Linked DNA regions of Homo sapiens: all the other regions are linked to region 1. The links are contacts of gene promoters, found by promoter capture Hi-C in blood cells and fetal thymus (Javierre and others, 2016). All regions are on one chromosome and are shown on one strand. Each heading gives the region's core, a stretch centred on a gene start or on the middle of the fragment in contact. The rest is flanking DNA. Distances are from core to core; before and after follow the strand shown. Region 1 holds the start of KRT71 (keratin 71). Region 2 has its middle 3.7 kb from the start of KRT84. Region 3 has its middle 21 kb from the start of KRT76. Region 4 has its middle 4.9 kb from the start of KRT85. Region 5 overlaps KRT3 (keratin 3). Region 6 overlaps KRT76 (keratin 76).

Region 1 (2,700 bases), core at 166-2,665:
GTAGTTTCAGTAAGAGCAAAGAAGACAAAATGGCAGGGGCAAGAGTAGAGGAAGGAATGCAGAGGATTGGGAGGGACTGGAGTCCAGGCTCTTCCCCTAAACAATATGAGAGAGAGCCCCAAACCAGCCTGTCTCCAGATTTTCTTCCCTCCTGTGCCCCACCCAGCAAAGAGCTGCTGTTCACCCATGGGGCTCCAGCAGGGATCTCTGGGCAAGGGTGATCTTCAGGGACAGAGCTGCCTTGGGTTGAATAGGGCCACAGTGGCAATGGCGATCATGGGAGTAGCTGGGGCCCAACACAGGAGCCAGTGGCTAGGAAGCAGGGGCTGCAGCCAGAGTCTCTGGGGCTGGCATCAAAGGACTGTTTGGAGTAGAATGACATCGTGCTTACTGGGTCGCCCCCATTGGGTCTTTCTGGTCTGAGCCTGCCTGGAGGCTTGCACTCCTGGGGAGGGCTCAGCCAGCCTTGTTCTTGGCTCACTTGGGCCTGGACAGAGGCAATAGGAGTTAAGTTTCATGTTGATAACAGCTTCTTTATTTGAACTCTAAACAGATGATTACTGTCCTCAAGTTGTTCCTAGTCTTATTAGCAGATACACATTGGAGGAGAGACAGAAATGAGGAAGTGGACCACCCAGGAATCTCCATAACCCTCCAGGCCATGGGCCAGCCTCTGTCTTTGTCTTCTCTGTACCTCCTTCCAGTCAAGTCCCTGAATTTCTCAGCCACCTGCCCCAACTCCATCCTCCTTTTCTCGTCCTCATTTTCTCCAGTGTTTGAAGCCTCCAGCCTGCTTTATTATGGGTGTTTGAGGGGGGAGAAGTGAGGATAGTGCCCGTGGTTGGCTCTGGCCTGGGCTGCTTCTGTCCCATGCTAGCGAGAGGGTCACTCCACCTCCTAATACCCCATGAGTGAGAGCAGCTGCCCTCTATGGGTTATGTTTCCAGGAGGCCTGGGGAGAGGTAATGCCTGATCAGTCCCTTTCCAGGAAGGAGGAGAACAGAAGTTGGAGGCCCCAGTACTCTACCCAGTGTCCTGAACTATCCAGGAAAGTCCATCCTGTCTTCACCTGCTGCATCCCCAGGAGGAAGCCAACAACCCAGAGAAGATTAATCAGGATAGGGATGGTGCAGTGCCAGTGACATCCCCCTGGAGAGGCCAGGGCCTGGGGCAAATTACCCTATAACAGCAGGTTAATTAGATAAGACCCAAATTACATGAGCAAAGCTTGCAAGCCCAGCAATTTGAAGGTTTCATGTTGTTTCAGAGGTGGAGAGGGCTTGATCTCTAGCTCAGCATAGAGAAAATGACTTCTTGCTCCCAGGCAAGCCAAACCCACGAATTAAGCTCTTGACTGCCCATCCACAAGCCCCAGTGCCAAGCACATATAAAGGCACCTGCCAGTCCTCACTACAACCAGCAGAACCTTTTGGGATTTTGCCTTCCTCCCTCCTGCATCTGAGCTTTGTCTCCACCAGCAACATGAGCCGCCAATTCACCTGCAAGTCGGGAGCTGCCGCCAAGGGGGGCTTCAGTGGCTGCTCAGCTGTGCTCTCAGGGGGCAGCTCATCCTCCTTCCGGGCAGGGAGCAAAGGGCTCAGTGGGGGCTTTGGCAGCCGGAGCCTCTACAGCCTGGGGGGTGTCCGGAGCCTCAATGTGGCCAGTGGCAGCGGGAAGAGTGGAGGCTATGGATTTGGCCGGGGCCGGGCCAGTGGCTTTGCTGGAAGCATGTTTGGCAGTGTGGCCCTGGGGCCTGTGTGCCCAACTGTATGCCCACCTGGAGGCATCCACCAGGTTACCGTCAATGAGAGCCTCCTGGCCCCCCTCAACGTGGAGCTGGACCCCGAGATCCAGAAAGTGCGTGCCCAGGAGCGAGAGCAGATCAAGGCTCTGAACAACAAGTTCGCCTCCTTCATCGACAAGGTGGGTCTTCTAGGGCCTGGGGAACTTGTGAACAGCCCTCCTCTTCTCTTCTTGGAACATACGATTTTGTTACAGCAGGAGAGATTGAGGTTAGATGTGAGGAAGACTTTACTGTGGACAAGGTAGGTACATCCCATCAACAGGGTGACCTGTGTAAGGTTCTCTGTGTTGTCTTTCCAGAGAGAAAACAGAGGCAGGTCAATTTCTACTGGCAGAGGCTTCTCAGGGCTCCCAGCAAGAGATGTGGTCCTTCCTCTTGAGGGCTAGCTTGGTGCCATTGCTAGGCCTGCAGGCCGTGTGCAGAAAAGGCCTGTGAGAGCCAGTCTCGCCCAGAGTAAGCAGGGAAGCTGTCCTCCTCCCCTGGCATGCTGCCCTGCCCACTGGTCACTTGCCCAGCGGATCAGGAGCAGCAGGAAGGGGCCGCTTCAGGCCCTCTGATTGGGCATTTGCTCCAGTCAGTTGAAGACTTTCTTGAGAGGCAGAAGAGGGCACTGGGGAAGGGGACTCCACGGTGCTCTTGTGCTCACTGCTGGCCACAGCTGAGTGGCTCTGGGAAGGTGATCTGCCTGTCTGTGTTGCCATCTCCTCATCTCTAAAATGGAGATAATAACTTCTGTCTTGGGGTTGTTGTCAGGCTTATAAAAGAAAATGCAGGTGAAGATCTTGTCACAAGCCTGACGCACACTAAATACTCCAAAAATGATTGTGATTGTGACTCTCATTTCTTATCTCTGGAATGTGGGGGAGGGAAGCTCAGGGGAGGAATCAAAGGTGTCT
Region 2 (2,700 bases), core at 82-2,581, 160 kb after region 1:
TCCACCCACGATTGCCACACTCCAGCCAGGGTCACCAAGTACCCAGAAAGAATCCTGGCAGGGGCTGGAATTGGGAAAATGGCTCTAGAAATGGCACCCTGAGCAGAGGAGGGGGTGCTTGGAGTCGCTGAACCTGGAAGAGGCTGTCCTAGCCATCCTAGCACCTAAGTGCAATGCCAGGCGCACATTAGCAACCAATAAAGGTGTGTTGAAGCAAACTGAACTAGATGTCTACCAGGAGCAACATTTTCACTCTGGACAGGTGACAACCATGTGGGCCATGTGAGACATCGCATTAAACCTGAAAAAACCATCCTTCCTGGAAGAAGTGAGAGGGGTGGGTAGAAAACAAGAAGGGGGTGCTTTATCTTCCGTGGGGAGGCGTGTTCATTCATCTGAGAGGGGAGAGAGGAGGAGGTACTGGCAAGGGTGGACCTAGCCTCTCACACACACCCCCTGCCCCCCGACCCCCACCCCTGCTGGGGGGACTCTGAAGCTTCCTTTCCCAGCAGGAGCAGGTCTTAGCATGAAAACTTCTCCAGCCAGTGCCTCTCTCCAGCACAAACTCGTCCCCAGGCTAAACAGAAGCCCTCTGAAGCCTTCTCAGAATCTGGGCTTCCCCTGTCATCCCCTTTCCCACACACACACCCAGCCACAGTGCAAACAGCGTTCCCAGAACCTGCATGGCCAACCAGGATGTCCCCCTCCCTCAGGCAGCCCTTCCCCTCCCTTTCCTCTGCTCAGCGTTTCTGCCTCCTCCCTGCTCCACAGATAGGATCCTGATGACCCAGCAGCCAGGCATGGTAATGCAGCCACGGAGCCTGGGCTCAGCCCGCAAGTCTCTGGAGTTACACTCAGGCTGACTGACAACAGCAAGAAGAAACTGTTGCAGCAGCAAAACCTCCTACCCAAAGTTGCCAGGGCAACTCCGCCCCCTCTCCCCACCTGCCACCCCCTAAAAAATGACTGAGGGTTGTGTTATGCATCGTCTGGCGAAATAATGCCTCCAAACTGCAAACTGCTGATGGTGACAGTTCATCACAGAGCAGGGACTATGCTTGACTGGTCCCAATTACAATTACCCCCACCCCACCCAGCCTGATCAGGGTTGAGGGAAGCTGGGACATGGGACAGGAATGGCTAATGGGGTATGAATGCATCTGCCATGGGAGCAGGAAGGAGGCGGGTGTGGATGGGAACAGGGATGACTGTGTAGAAGTGAAGGGAGGATTGTGCAAAACAGAGAAGAAAAGGGAGGAAGGGAGGGAGGAAAGAGCCAGGGAAAGGAATGGAGTACAGTAGCAGCTGCCAGGCACTGCACAGTGCACATCCCAGGCACTTCCTAGTCAATCCTCATCATACTATGAAACAGGGAATATTCCATATTAACATGAGGAAACTGAGGCTTAGAGGTTAAACAATTTCCCCAAGGTCATTGGTATACCATAGGGGTGGAAGGGACTACTACCATTATTTAGAATGGCCAATGCATGCTGAAAATTGTTAATAAGCTGATTGGTTGGTTTTAAAGTTCTCTGCAGAAAAGTTCCCCTAGTGCCTGCACCTGCAGCAGAACCTGGCCACCACCCTGCCCTTGGTATAGCACTATCCAAGATCATACTGCTAGTCGGTGACAAATCTGAGTTTCACCCAGGTCCATCTGACTCTAAAATTGATATCATCTTCTGGGTCCCCACCAGGGTTCTCTAGGCAGGCCATCCCTCCCACTCCCTTCCCCTTTCACCTCCACCAGACAGCCTCTGGTCCCCCTGCCCCAATCTCCTGGAACCCCTCGCCTGGCCTCAGAGGAGTGGGATGCCCTTTCGTTCAAGCAGCCTGGCTCAAACCCCAAGAGGCTGGAACTGGGGGACAAACTGGATTGGTTCTCCTTTGAGCTCTTGAGTTTCTGCCCCACCGTCCCCTCCTGGGCCATTCCTGTCCATTTGGGAACTTGGAGTCTCTTTTTCCCGAAATATCTGCAAAATCAAATGCCCAAATTCCTGTTCTTCATACTTCCTATTTCTTTCTCCTCCTGCTTTTAATCTTCACAGCCTCTTCCATTCACTCAACGAAACTATACAGAATGCCCACCATGTGCCCCACTCTGAGTCCTGGGGACCCCTCAGAGAGCAAAATGCACAGCAGTGTCTGCCTCCTAAAGCTTTGCTCCAGCCAGTACAAGTCAACGACAACAACAGGCAAATCCACCCAAGAAGAGGACCTCAGATGGCTGTAAATGCTAAGGCGACAAGGAAGCGGGGCAGGTGTACAGGGAGGACAGGGAGTTTCCAATAGAAGCTAAGAGGATGACATATGAACAAAGCCCTGGAAGAGTTGAGGGACCCAGCCATACAGCTATTTGAGGAAAAAGGTTCCCAGCAGAGAAAACAGCAAGGGGGTAAGCATTCGAGGCAGGAGTCATTCTGCCTGTTTGATGGACAGCCAGGATGCTCAAGTGGCTGCAACAGAGTGGGCAGCGGGACAGGTGGAGGGGATGAGGTCAGGGAAGAGGGAGGCACACTGCATAGTGTCTTACAGGGCATTGACTCTGAATGGGTGGGAAACCATGGGAGGAGTTTCGGCATGGAAATGGCATGATCTGACATGTTTTTAAAGGATCACTCTGTGCTGCTAAGAAAAGCCTGAAGGGGCAAGGGAGGAAGCTGGGAGACCAGCTGGGAGTGTAGTTCAGAAGATCCT
Region 3 (2,700 bases), core at 129-2,628, 200 kb before region 1:
ATAGCAAGAAGGTGCCATGGGGTGATAAGAGGTACTGTAAGGGTGGGAAAGACTTGGGTATGAGAGGAGAGGTTGAGAGGAGGGGCAGGAGAGGGAGGAGGGTAACTGATGGAGCAAAGAATTAGAGGAGATGGGTGGGGATACACCTTGAAGCCTTGTACAAGAAAAAGGAAAATCAGGTGGGTGTGGAGGCAGGCAGGAGTCAAGGCACAGAAGGGATGCTGAGGGGATCACTCCTGATGGCTTCAGTGTTCTTGGTGAAGTAGGAAGCTAGGCTTGGGTGGTCTCCCTTAGCAGAGCTCAGTGCCTGCAGCAGGTGGGGGAAGGAAGTTTTAGTCATGGCCTTGAGAAGGGACTTTGTTAGGCTGATGGTTGAAAGATAGGGGAATAGGGGAATTGATGAGGCTGGTGAGAAGGTCGTCCAGGTGGTGAAGTCCAGTCTTCCTTCTATGAGGAATGAGATAGCATCAATTTTGTTCACCACTTTCCACCACCTGGTCAATGCCTAGCATATAGTAGATGCTCAGAAAGTATTTGTTGAATGAATGAATAATGCTTAATGTGAGAAGAGCAGGAAAAGAAACTAGGAGAGAGCTAACAGCCTTGGAAAAAATGAAGGGGTTAAGACAATGAGATTATTTACATGAGTGAAGAGCAGATGTAATGAGAGTTAATTGGGAGAGCCCTGGGAGATGGAAAGTTATGGCCAGAAAGTGGGGCTTGGGAATTAAGCTTCTAGGAGGCAGCAGTTCTTGGTGATGGTCCAGGCTGCAGGCATGGAGTGTGTGGTTGAGGTGGAGTGAAGGAGAAGGTGACCGGAATTGAGAAGACCCAGGGATTCCATGGCCAGGCTGCTGAGTGGGTCATCCTCTCAGAGGTGGAACTTAGCAAGGACGATGGTGGTGGTGGGGAGGAGATGCATGGTATTCCAGAACCCAACAGGGGGAAGAAACCGTGGAGGTAATTTGTTCAACTTCCTACCAAATGATAGCAAGAAGATTGGCTTGGATGGAATGACAGAGTTTTAACATTAAAGTGGTGGAATCAGGATGGAGGAAAGAAAAAGGGAAAGGGGAGGGCATTTAAGGTCAAAAGAGGAGATCGTTCTGCTAGAAGAGGCAGGCTAGTCAACTTTTGGGTAGGAGAGTGACATTTTGAAAATGGTACTTGCATAAGATCATGTTGGCAGGGGTGGATGGGAGCAAAGAGAGACTAGAGACTCTGGGTGATCTTTGGGGAGCAGTGAGCCACATCCAAACTCATGACCCACTGCAGTTTGCCAGGCTGTCAGAAACAGCATAAATTCTTCCCACTCAATGGGTCAGGCTGGTACATATCCCTGCATTTGTGGATATACCACGCTCTGCTTTGTAGCCTTCAGCAGCCTTTGATGATCTTGCCTCAAATGAAGCGTAATATTTGCTGCACAGATGGGTTTCTGCAAGTCTCTTTACGCCCGCAACATGGGATACTCTTTATCATCTCCATCAGCTCACCTCAAGATACCTTCTCTGGGAAGTCTTCCTTGACTAACCGCCCTCCACAGTTCCCATTTCAATCCCCTCCTGCAACTGCAATAGTCACGTGGCTGTTTCTGGTCCCATCCGTGTCTGCCTCATGCTCTGGGTGACAGTGTCAGGCTGTTTGCTTTCTGGGTATTAACAGAACACATTTCCTCCTTCCTGTAAACTTCTTGTTATATGATCAAGAAGCTATTCAATAAATGGAACAGAACTGGGTTTGCTTAAACTTTAGCTCCCATGTTGTCTTGTGTGTCTTGCAATGAGTGCCCTTCCCAAAGTCTTTGAGAGCTGACTTGCCATCCCATGACCTACTCCTGTGGTGCTGTCTACAGAGGCAAGGACAACATTAGATTCCTGTTGATGTGGTGGTGCCAAAGAATGTGTCTGTTCTAAGCCTGGTATAAGCACCTACCAGAGGTGGAAAGAACTGCAGCCTCCAGGGCAACCTGAGCATGATCTTTATTTTTATTTTAATTTTAATAAACTGTAACTAGAAGCTTCTCGGTCATCAAGTTGTTTATCCTCGTGCACAGGGTCAGTTGGCAGTGAACCTACCCCTGAAACCCAGTCAAAACTTCTCTTCCCTCCAGAGGCAATGGCATGGCAGCTTGGAGTGCCCAGCTCTCTGGCCTCTCTGCAGGGAAGGCCTTCTAGCACCCCCGTTACTGTAGCGTAAATTTTTTCTTGGCCTGTGCTCACCAGAAACCACTGGATTCAGATCCTCTCTCCTTATAGCCAGGATGACTGTTGCTGTTACCCCCGGTTAGAATTCTTAATAAAATTGCCTCTCTTTTGTTTATTTTGAGGATAATCTTCAGCCTCTACCCAGGCCCCTGAGGGTGTCAGGCTGCCAAGAGAAGCATCCAAGCTGGTATGTTAGGGGCTTCTAGGGGCTGAGAAAATGTGAGGGTGTGAGGTGAGATTCAAGACCTTCCAATCAGCTGGGTCTCTTTTCCCTCCAGTTGGATGATTTGGCTGCATTTCCCATGTGCTTAACATGGGCTTGGTACACAGGTGGGCATGTTTAGCAGAGAGGGCAGCCACTCCTACAAGTGGCAGCTGATTTAGTCAGTCTGTATCTCAAAACCCCATCTTAAGTTCATGCATACAGGCTCCTGTCCTGGGTTTGGGGCAGGAGATGATTGGGTAGAAGGCTGTCTGGAGGGCCAAGACTTTT
Region 4 (2,700 bases), core at 99-2,598, 180 kb after region 1:
TGCAAGGTCAATATACAGAAATCAATTGTATTTCTATACACCAGCAATGGAAATTAAAAAATTGTTGAAATATCATTTCCAATAGTACCATTTAATTCCAAAGGATAAATACTTAGGCATAAACCTTTAAAAAGTATATGAGGATCTGTATGCTGAAAACTACAAAACATTAATGAAAGAAATCAAAGAAAACTTAAATAAATAGAAAGATATACTGTGTTAATGAGCTGGAAGACTCAATATTATTAATATGTCAGTTATCTCCCAGAGATGACATAGGGGTCAAACCCATGGACAAGGGCACAGGCAGACCTGAGTTCAATCCCAGGTCTTCCACTTACTGGCTGCGTGACCAAAGGTAATGAGAGGTAACAATAATACCTAACATATGTTGAACTGAGTAGTGTTCCAAATAATTCTCACAGGTTAACTCATTTTATTCTTTCAATATCCTTAGGTGGTAGGTGCTTTTATTATTTCCCATTTGACAGATGACAAAACTGAGGCCCAGAGAGGTTAAATAAGTGGTGAGGCACAGGAGCTCTGACTCCTGAGCCCATGCTCACCACCACTGTGCTGTTCTGCCTGTCACGTAATCTCAATACGCCTCTTGCCTCATTTGTAAAATGGAAAAATATGTCGTACCTCAAAGAGATGTGGGGATGACATGCAATGGTAATCCAAGGTGCTTGGCACTCAACCTGGCCCACAGTGGGTACACAATTGCTTCAGTAGTGGTGGTGGTGGTGGTGTTTCTCTTTTGTCAATGAACAATAGCTTTGTCAGCAGCTCAGCCACTCCAGTACCAACCACAGGTGGATGCAGAAGCGTCAGGGACTGTCTCCAGCTTCCAAAGATCTGGAAACCAGAGCCAGCTGCAGGCAGATCCCTGGCCTTCTCTGCTTCTGCCACGACTGAACTGCTGCCAGGCCAGCTGTGGGAATTTGCTGCCCTCTTCTGGCCACCAACTTCGGACAAGAAGGCGTAGGAGATTTTCAAAGCAGGCTACCAGCAGGATTGGCTTGTGCAATATAGCAAGGAGAGGAGGGAGCTTAGAGTCTTGTAAAACCATTTTGTTTTTCTCCAGATTTGTAATTAGGACACAAACATAAAAACAATAAGTAACAGCTTTTAAAAATAAATCTATCTCCTTTCTCACCAGCCCAACCCAGCCGTTTTCACCGTTCTGTGTTCTTTGTCTCCATGGGTATTCAGAAAACCACAGCCTTGAAGCAGGAAAGAGCCAGGGAGGGGTCTTAGTCCCATGGCTTTCAAACTGCATGTGTTCCTCGGGGCTCAAGGGCCAAGGCTTCCCACAAGCTGTCATTTTCTGCCAAACCTCAAATATCTAAAGTATCCAAGATAGCCATTCATTTATACATTCATCAGTCAACAATATTTACTGAGCACTTACTATATTCCCAGCACTTTTCTAGGTGAACAAAATGAACAAAACAGACAAAATCTCTGCTTCCATGGAGTTTACTTTGGGGTGATGGGAAAAACAGACAATAATCCACAAATAGAATAAATAAGTAAATTCTGGACTGTGTTAAGTGTGATGGAAAAATAAATAAATAAGAGCAAGATAAGCTGGATGGAGAGTGCCCTGGGGTGGAGGGCAGGTTGCCATTTTTTTAAAGGGTCAGAGAGATGGTATAGGGGCAAAGCCCTGCAGGAGGCAATGGGCAAGCCACTTGGATGACAGGGGAGCATTTGGGTGGAAGAGACAGCAGGGCACAGGCCCTGAGTCAGGAGTGCACCCTGTCCTGGTGCTCCAGTGGGAGGTCACTGTGGTTGCTGAACACAGGGAGACCGGTGACAAAGGCCACAACACAGACAGGCAGTGCAGGGCCTTGTTGGCCATTGTTAGGACTCCAAGCAAAATGGGGAATTGGGTGTTTGAGCAGGGTAGAGACATGATCCAACTTATGTTTTACGGGGCTTACTCTCCTCGGCTGAGAATGGAGTTGGAGGGCCAGGGGCAAACAGGGAGACCAGCATGTCAATCTTATCTATTCTATAACTACATAAGTAAATACATGGCTTTATATAGCTGTTTTCCTCCTAGGATTTGGGGAGATGGCTCAACTGCCAAAAAGAAAAGAAAGAAAACATTTCAAAACCATTCATGCAGTACATTCCTGAAATCAGAGGCTCTGTAACGACTGAGCCACTGCTCTGATCCCGAGTAACCATGGAAAACAGCAAAGCACCAGGGAATGCTGCCAATAGGAAGGCACGTGGACAGAGTTCGGGAGGAGAATGGAGTTTCTTGGAGTTGCCGTGGAGCAGGCCAGGGAGCAGCTGTGTCAGCTGGGCACGGAACCCCGCCATGACACACTGGAGAACGTAGAGTTGCTCTGACCCTCCTTTCTCTCACTTAGGGTCCCTGAATCATGCCCAAGTCTTGTGAAAGTCAAAGAGAGGGAAAGAGGGCTAAGAAGAGCCTCCAAGAGCTGCGTCTCAGCAGCGGCAGTGGCGTAGCCTTAGATGCATAATAAAAGTGTGGCCAGCAGAGGCAAAGGGCGGTACCCAGTTTGAATCAGCTGTGCAGGCCTTGTCCATGGGGAGCCCATCAGGACTGACTGAGGGGGACCAGCCCACTAGGAGGGATGGGAAGACAACCCACAAGAGCCCAGGCAGGCACAAACACAAAACTGGGAGGACAGACAGTGCAGGATGGGGAAGGTGTCAGCA
Region 5 (2,700 bases), core at 179-2,678, 240 kb before region 1:
GTCATGAAGTTCCCAGGAACAACAAGCAATAATTCTATTGCTTTCAGGTAGGAGCTACTTCCCCTTCCTTTGTAACTTTCCAAACCACGCTGCAAGTGTAGTGTCCTGACTCATCACCCATCTGATCATAATCTCTCTGACTACAGTAGGAGCCTATCTTTGCATCTTTTCTAGGCCTTTGTGCTGGGGGCCCAGGAGATAGACACCTAGTCCTACCTGAGTGAAGGCCCCTCTGCTCCTCTGCTACAAGTGTTGCCTGATGTTGCTTCCTGCAACCATTGCAGGTGCGGTTCCTGGAGCAACAGAACAAAGTCCTGGAGACCAAGTGGAACCTGCTCCAGCAGCAGGGCACAAGTTCCATCTCAGGCACAAACAACCTTGAGCCTCTTTTTGAGAATCACATCAACTACCTGCGGAGCTACCTGGACAACATCCTCGGGGAGAGAGGGCGCCTGGACTCTGAGCTGAAGAACATGGAGGACCTGGTGGAAGACTTCAAGAAGAAGTGAGTGACAGGGCAGGAGTGGGAAGATGCCATGGCCCACCCTGTCTCAGAGTCTTGGCCCCTTCTACATGCCCCCTGACTGCTGGGCAGTGGCGTCTCCTGGCCCATTTCCCTCTCCTTACCTTCATGAAGGACAGCTTGGTTCATTCAGTTCCCCCTCACCTTCCTTCTCCAAGCATGGTGCTTTGCAAATAAAATTGTGGCAAGAGGATGAGTTTAGGCTGGGCTTGGTGGCTCATGCCTGTAATCCCAGCACTTTGGGAGGCCGAGGTGGACAGATCATTTGAGGTCAGGAGTTCAAGACCAGCCTGGCCAACATGGCGAAATATCATCTCTACTAAAAATACAAAAATTAGCTGGGTGTGGTGGCACACACCTGTAATCCAAGATAGTCGGGTGGCTGAGGAAACAGAATTTCTTGAACCCTGGAAATGGAGGTTGCAGTGAGTCAAGATTGTACCACTGCACTCCAGCCTCGGTGACAGAGCGAGACTATGTCTAAAAAAAAAACAAAAACAAAAAACGGATGAGTTTAGAGTTGGGGAAGCATTTCCTCATGAGCCAGGTTGGGGAAGATCCTGGTTCTGGCATGTGAAAGATTCTGGGACAACTCATGGTATGGTGATCAACCATCCAGAGGTTTGCCTGGGACTGAGGGGTTTCCTGGGATGCAGAAATTTTAGTGCTAAAACCAGACAGTTTGCCTGGGCAAATTGACTTGGTTGGTCCCCCAACTAACAGGGAGATAGTAAAGAGGATGTGCTCATCTGAGAGGGGCAGGATAGGGATGGAGGGAGGGAAGAGATGAACTTTCAGAGTTCCAGGGAACAATGGTGTTTACGATGACCTCAAAACCAAACTCAGCTGTTTCTTTTTTATTCACACAGATATGAGGATGAAATCAATAAACGTACAGCTGCTGAGAATGAATTTGTGACTCTGAAGAAGGTAAGGGCTGTGTGTGAGGTTTCTGAGGCTTGCAGCTGCAGGTTTCTGGCTGGGTTGGGGGAATCTCCTCACTCCACTGCCACAGAGCTGCCAAGTTCAGGCCTTTGGAGCAATAAACAGAAGTCAGGTGCACCTTAGTCTGGAAGATCCCTAAAAGAGTTAGTTCATCAGTCTTTAGTTTTTTAGTAGGATTAAACTTAGACCATCCTAATGAGATACAAATTGCCCGTTCAAGTGGAGACTGGTCTTAGACAAGGACCATCACTGCACCAGTCCCCTCTGCTCTTTCTTGCTGCAGTTGTGGTTTGCTGTTTGTTCATTGGGAGAATAAGGCCTTTATCTTCCTCTTTTCTCAGGATGTGGACAGTGCCTATATGAACAAGGTGGAGCTTCAGGCCAAAGTGGATGCCTTGATAGATGAGATCGACTTCTTAAGGACCCTCTACGACGCTGTAAGGATGTTACCTACTAAGAAGGGACAGAGGGAGAGTGAGGTGTTTCCAGATTTGAGGCTGGTGCATTTTGGTATATAGGCCCCAGAAGACATCTGGAATGAGCCTGGAGATGAGGACCCTTGGAAGGGATTCCACAGGATAAGCTGCAGACATGGGGTTCTCTGAGTGGCTGCGGACAGGGTGTGGCTGATACACATGTGGAGCAAGGAATCAGTGAATGAGACTGTTGATCAAGAGTCTTTCAGGGCCCTGTGTGCTTGTTACAGGGACCCCAAAAGTGAACAAGCTCCCTCTGTGTTGACAGGAGCTATCTCAGATGCAGAGCCACATCAGTGACACATCTGTGGTGCTGTCCATGGACAATAATCGCTCCCTGGACCTGGACAGCATCATTGCTGAAGTTCGTGCACAGTATGAGGATATCGCTCAGAGAAGCAAGGCCGAAGCTGAGGCCCTGTACCAGACCAAGGTGGGTGCTAGTCACCTCTTACGGGATCCACTGGAGGTTTCAGAGAGGCCATGGCCTATTGGACAGCTGGGTAGTGAGTTCCCAGTGGTCACTGGGTGAATGCCTTTTGGTTTTACCCTCTGAAGTCATCCTTCTAATGGTGGTTCAGTTGCAGAAAGTCTTGCCCCTGGGGGAGATGGTTGCCTGCTATGTGGGACTGACTCCAACTTGCTCAGGAACTACAGGGTAGGAAAATCTTCTACCACAACAACCCAGATGTTCTCTTTCCTGCTGCCTTGGGGGTTTCCCTGCTGAAACACAATGCAGTATCATTTTAGCAAATG
Region 6 (2,700 bases), core at 141-2,640, 220 kb before region 1:
GCCAAGAGGTGCTGTGGAGGGTTTGGGGTGCCCAGGGGTCGGTGTAGAAAGATGCCATGGGGACTTGTGAGACACAGGGCAGGGGCGCTTGGCTCTTGTCCTGGTGCTGTCTTGGTCCCTACAGGACAGTGATCATGCCCCTTTCACTTTTTGGGCCTTCTTTTTCCAGCTGTGAAATGGGGGGAAGAATTCCTGGTCCTGGTTTCCTGCTAAGAATGAGATGAGGGTAAATGAAGTGGGGGTCCAAACATGCTCTTAGCTTTTTGAAGAATGAGCCATTTTAGTCATGAAATTATTGCAGTTACTTTAATTTCTCCTGAAAAGCAATTGCTTGATAATCCAAAGTAGCTGGTAATCAAAACCTTGTGTTAGCACAGATCTTGAGGCTGCATCTAAATGAGGTGCATTGGCAGCTGCCTTACCTTCCAGATGATGCTGTGCTTCAGCCAATAATTAAACTGAGCTGTCCATGCTGGGGCAGAGGAGGGTGTTCTGGGTCTGTGTGGGACTGAGCCCAGGATCTGAAGTGAATTCTAGTTCAGCTGCAAGCTGAATAACTGAAAGGAGGTCTTCCTATGTGAAACTTCTAAAGAAATGTTAGACCTCATTGACTGTATTCACTGCCTTTATGGAGCTGAAAAAAGCTTACATCTAAAAAACAATGACAAACTTTATTTGTGCTTACCTCCTTCAGTGGTATTCTGAAGGATCCCTATAGACCCAGGACAGTCCTGGGTTTGATTCTTAGCTTTGTCACTCAGTAGACTTGTCACTTTGGGAAACTTAAACTCTTTGAGTCTCAGTTTCCTTATCTACAAAATGGGGATCACAGCAACTCCTTTATAGGTGGTTGTGAGGATTAAATGTGACGGAAATACATGAAAATAACAGGTAAGGCATAATCACTCAACAAATTCTAGCTCTCCCTTTGCTAAATCTTCATCCTTCCCAAATTAAAAAACAGGGGAAATTGTAGATTGAAGAACTGGGTTCCTTCTCCACAGTTCTACATTTGGGATGGGCAGCCCCACATGCCCAACTCAAGGGGCTGACTCCTTTTCTCCCCTCTTTCATGCAGGTGCGGTTCCTGGAACAGCAGAACAAGGTCCTGGAGACCAAGTGGGAACTGCTCCAGCAGCAGACCACAGGCTCAGGGCCCAGCAGCCTGGAGCCTTGTTTTGAATCCTACATCAGCTTCCTATGCAAGCAGCTAGATTCACTTCTAGGGGAGAGGGGGAACCTGGAGGGAGAGCTGAAAAGCATGCAGGACCTGGTGGAAGACTTCAAAAAGAAGTGAGGGCTCCTCCTGGGAAGTTTCCCCTTCTGGGGAATTAGCAGGGAGGTGTGGTCCTAATTTGGGATTTCAACTGTTCCCAACTGTGCCTTCAGTCAATACTCTGGGATGGATTTATTGAGTGAAACATGACAAAGCAGAAGGGGGTGAAAGGGTGGGGACTGAGACTCCCATGTGGCTATGACACAGATTTCAGGCTCCAGATGGGCCCCCTCCTATTCCAGCCCAGAGGGACAAAAGAGTCCTCCCAGAGTTTAGAATCCTTTAGGATGGGGAGTCCGCCACACTTGACTGGACACAGGAATCACCTTGGATGCTTGTCAACAATGCGTATTCCTGTATTCCAGTCTTAGGTATTCTGAATCATAGGTGTGGACAGGCCCCAGGAGTGTGAGTGTTCCCCTAGCTCCTGGGGATTCTAGGCAGAGGTCCAGGGCTGCACTTGGTAAAGGCCTTTATCAGTGTGTCCCGTCCAATCTCCTGTTCTGCAGCTTTGGTTTGCCTCCTCCTCCACGTTCCAAGTTGCAGTCCATATCCGCTGAGGTCTGCAAGGAGCAAACTGGGCCTCTCAAGGTGGGAGGGAGCTCCCGACTTCCCCAGGGATCAGAACCCACAGGGACGGGCACACCTGCTCTGCAGAGGCCCTATTCCAATTCAACCACACAAACGTGGTGGGCACCCACTCTGTGGCAGGCTCTGTGCTGGGCTCTGGGAATTCAGTGGCAACTCAGATTCATATTCCCAAAAGAGATCCCAGAGACCTCTTTTCTCCTAGAGGAAAAAAAGAGGTCCTGCCTAGAGACCTCTTTTCTCCTAGAATCAGTCCAATTCCTCAAGCTTTATGAAATACAAACTCTTGGTAGTAGATTTTAGTCCTTAACAGGCAGGAATCCCACAACTTTGATGCATTCAGAAGGTATGAATTCTTTCTTAACTGAAATTCCTATAAGAAGTAACTGTAATGAAGGAAAACAGAAACTGAGGAAATAGGCAGAAATGCCCAATGAGAGCACACATTTCACTGGGTTCCATATGCACACATTGTGCTTTGCAAAGTCAATCAAAGAGCCTAGGCAAGTGGTCAGGCTCCTTGAAGTTTGCCCTCTCACTGACTGCCCATACCTCTGCCCATCACTGCATTTAGAGGGAAGAGGGCCAGGCAGTGCCCTGAGCTCTGAGAGGTCTCTGGACAGGACCAGCTACGTGATTTTCAGGCCTCAGTGCAAAATGATAATGCAGGAACCTAGTTACAAAATTATTAAGAATTTCAATCATGCCTGTAATCCCAGTACTTTGGGAGGCTGAGGAGGGAGAATCACTTGAGCCCAACAGTTCGAGACCAGCCTGGGCAACAAAGTGAGACCTTGTCTCTACTAAAAATTAAAAAATTGGCTGGACGTGGTGGT

Evidence for each region. Contacts are between HindIII fragments. The CHiCAGO score rates a contact against its expected background, and 5 or more counts as called.
Region 2: a fragment that was not itself captured here is called in contact with the fragment with the promoter of KRT71 in region 1 in 3 of 17 cell types (M0 macrophages, M1 macrophages and M2 macrophages); the score reaches 6.6 in M0 macrophages.
Region 3: a fragment that was not itself captured here is called in contact with the fragment with the promoter of KRT71 in region 1 in 1 of 17 cell types (total CD8 T cells); the score reaches 5.1 in total CD8 T cells.
Region 4: a fragment that was not itself captured here is called in contact with the fragment with the promoter of KRT71 in region 1 in 4 of 17 cell types (M2 macrophages, M1 macrophages, M0 macrophages and 1 more); the score reaches 8.2 in M2 macrophages.
Region 5: a contact is called between a fragment that was not itself captured here and the fragment with the promoter of KRT71 in region 1, in 1 of 17 cell types (naive CD4 T cells). The highest score is 5.8, in naive CD4 T cells.
Region 6: a contact is called between a fragment that was not itself captured here and the fragment with the promoter of KRT71 in region 1, in 6 of 17 cell types (naive CD4 T cells, endothelial precursors, naive CD8 T cells and 3 more). The highest score is 8.0, in naive CD4 T cells.

Annotation. Positions count from the first base shown.
Region 1 is chr12:52,551,860-52,554,559 of GRCh38, reverse strand. KRT71 (keratin 71) reads left to right here and starts at 1,415. Exons shown (of 9, transcript NM_033448.3): 1 at 1,415-1,923. The coding sequence starts at 1,483. The HindIII fragment of the contact is 3,012 bases long and covers 1,230-2,700 here.
Region 2 is chr12:52,388,004-52,390,703 of GRCh38, reverse strand. No RefSeq gene overlaps it. Among named protein-coding and RNA genes, the nearest start is that of KRT84, 3.7 kb to the right of the region's middle. The HindIII fragment of the contact is 1,665 bases long and covers 499-2,163 here.
Region 3 is chr12:52,755,335-52,758,034 of GRCh38, reverse strand. No RefSeq gene overlaps it. Among named protein-coding and RNA genes, the nearest start is that of KRT76, 21 kb to the left of the region's middle. The HindIII fragment of the contact is 1,288 bases long and covers 735-2,022 here.
Region 4 is chr12:52,370,991-52,373,690 of GRCh38, reverse strand. No RefSeq gene overlaps it. Among named protein-coding and RNA genes, the nearest start is that of KRT85, 4.9 kb to the right of the region's middle. RefSeq lists a cis regulatory region at 912 and an enhancer at 828-997. The HindIII fragment of the contact is 4,826 bases long and covers 1-2,700 here.
Region 5 is chr12:52,791,916-52,794,615 of GRCh38, reverse strand. It overlaps KRT3 (keratin 3), which reads left to right. Exons shown (of 9, transcript NM_057088.3): 2 at 285-505; 3 at 1,393-1,453; 4 at 1,810-1,905; 5 at 2,213-2,377. Among named protein-coding and RNA genes, the nearest start is that of KRT3, 2.9 kb to the left of the region's middle. The HindIII fragment of the contact is 4,397 bases long and covers 1-2,700 here.
Region 6 is chr12:52,773,981-52,776,680 of GRCh38, reverse strand. KRT76 (keratin 76) reads left to right here. Exons shown (of 9, transcript NM_015848.4): 2 at 1,079-1,293. Among named protein-coding and RNA genes, the nearest start is that of KRT76, 2.0 kb to the left of the region's middle. The HindIII fragment of the contact is 1,487 bases long and covers 647-2,133 here.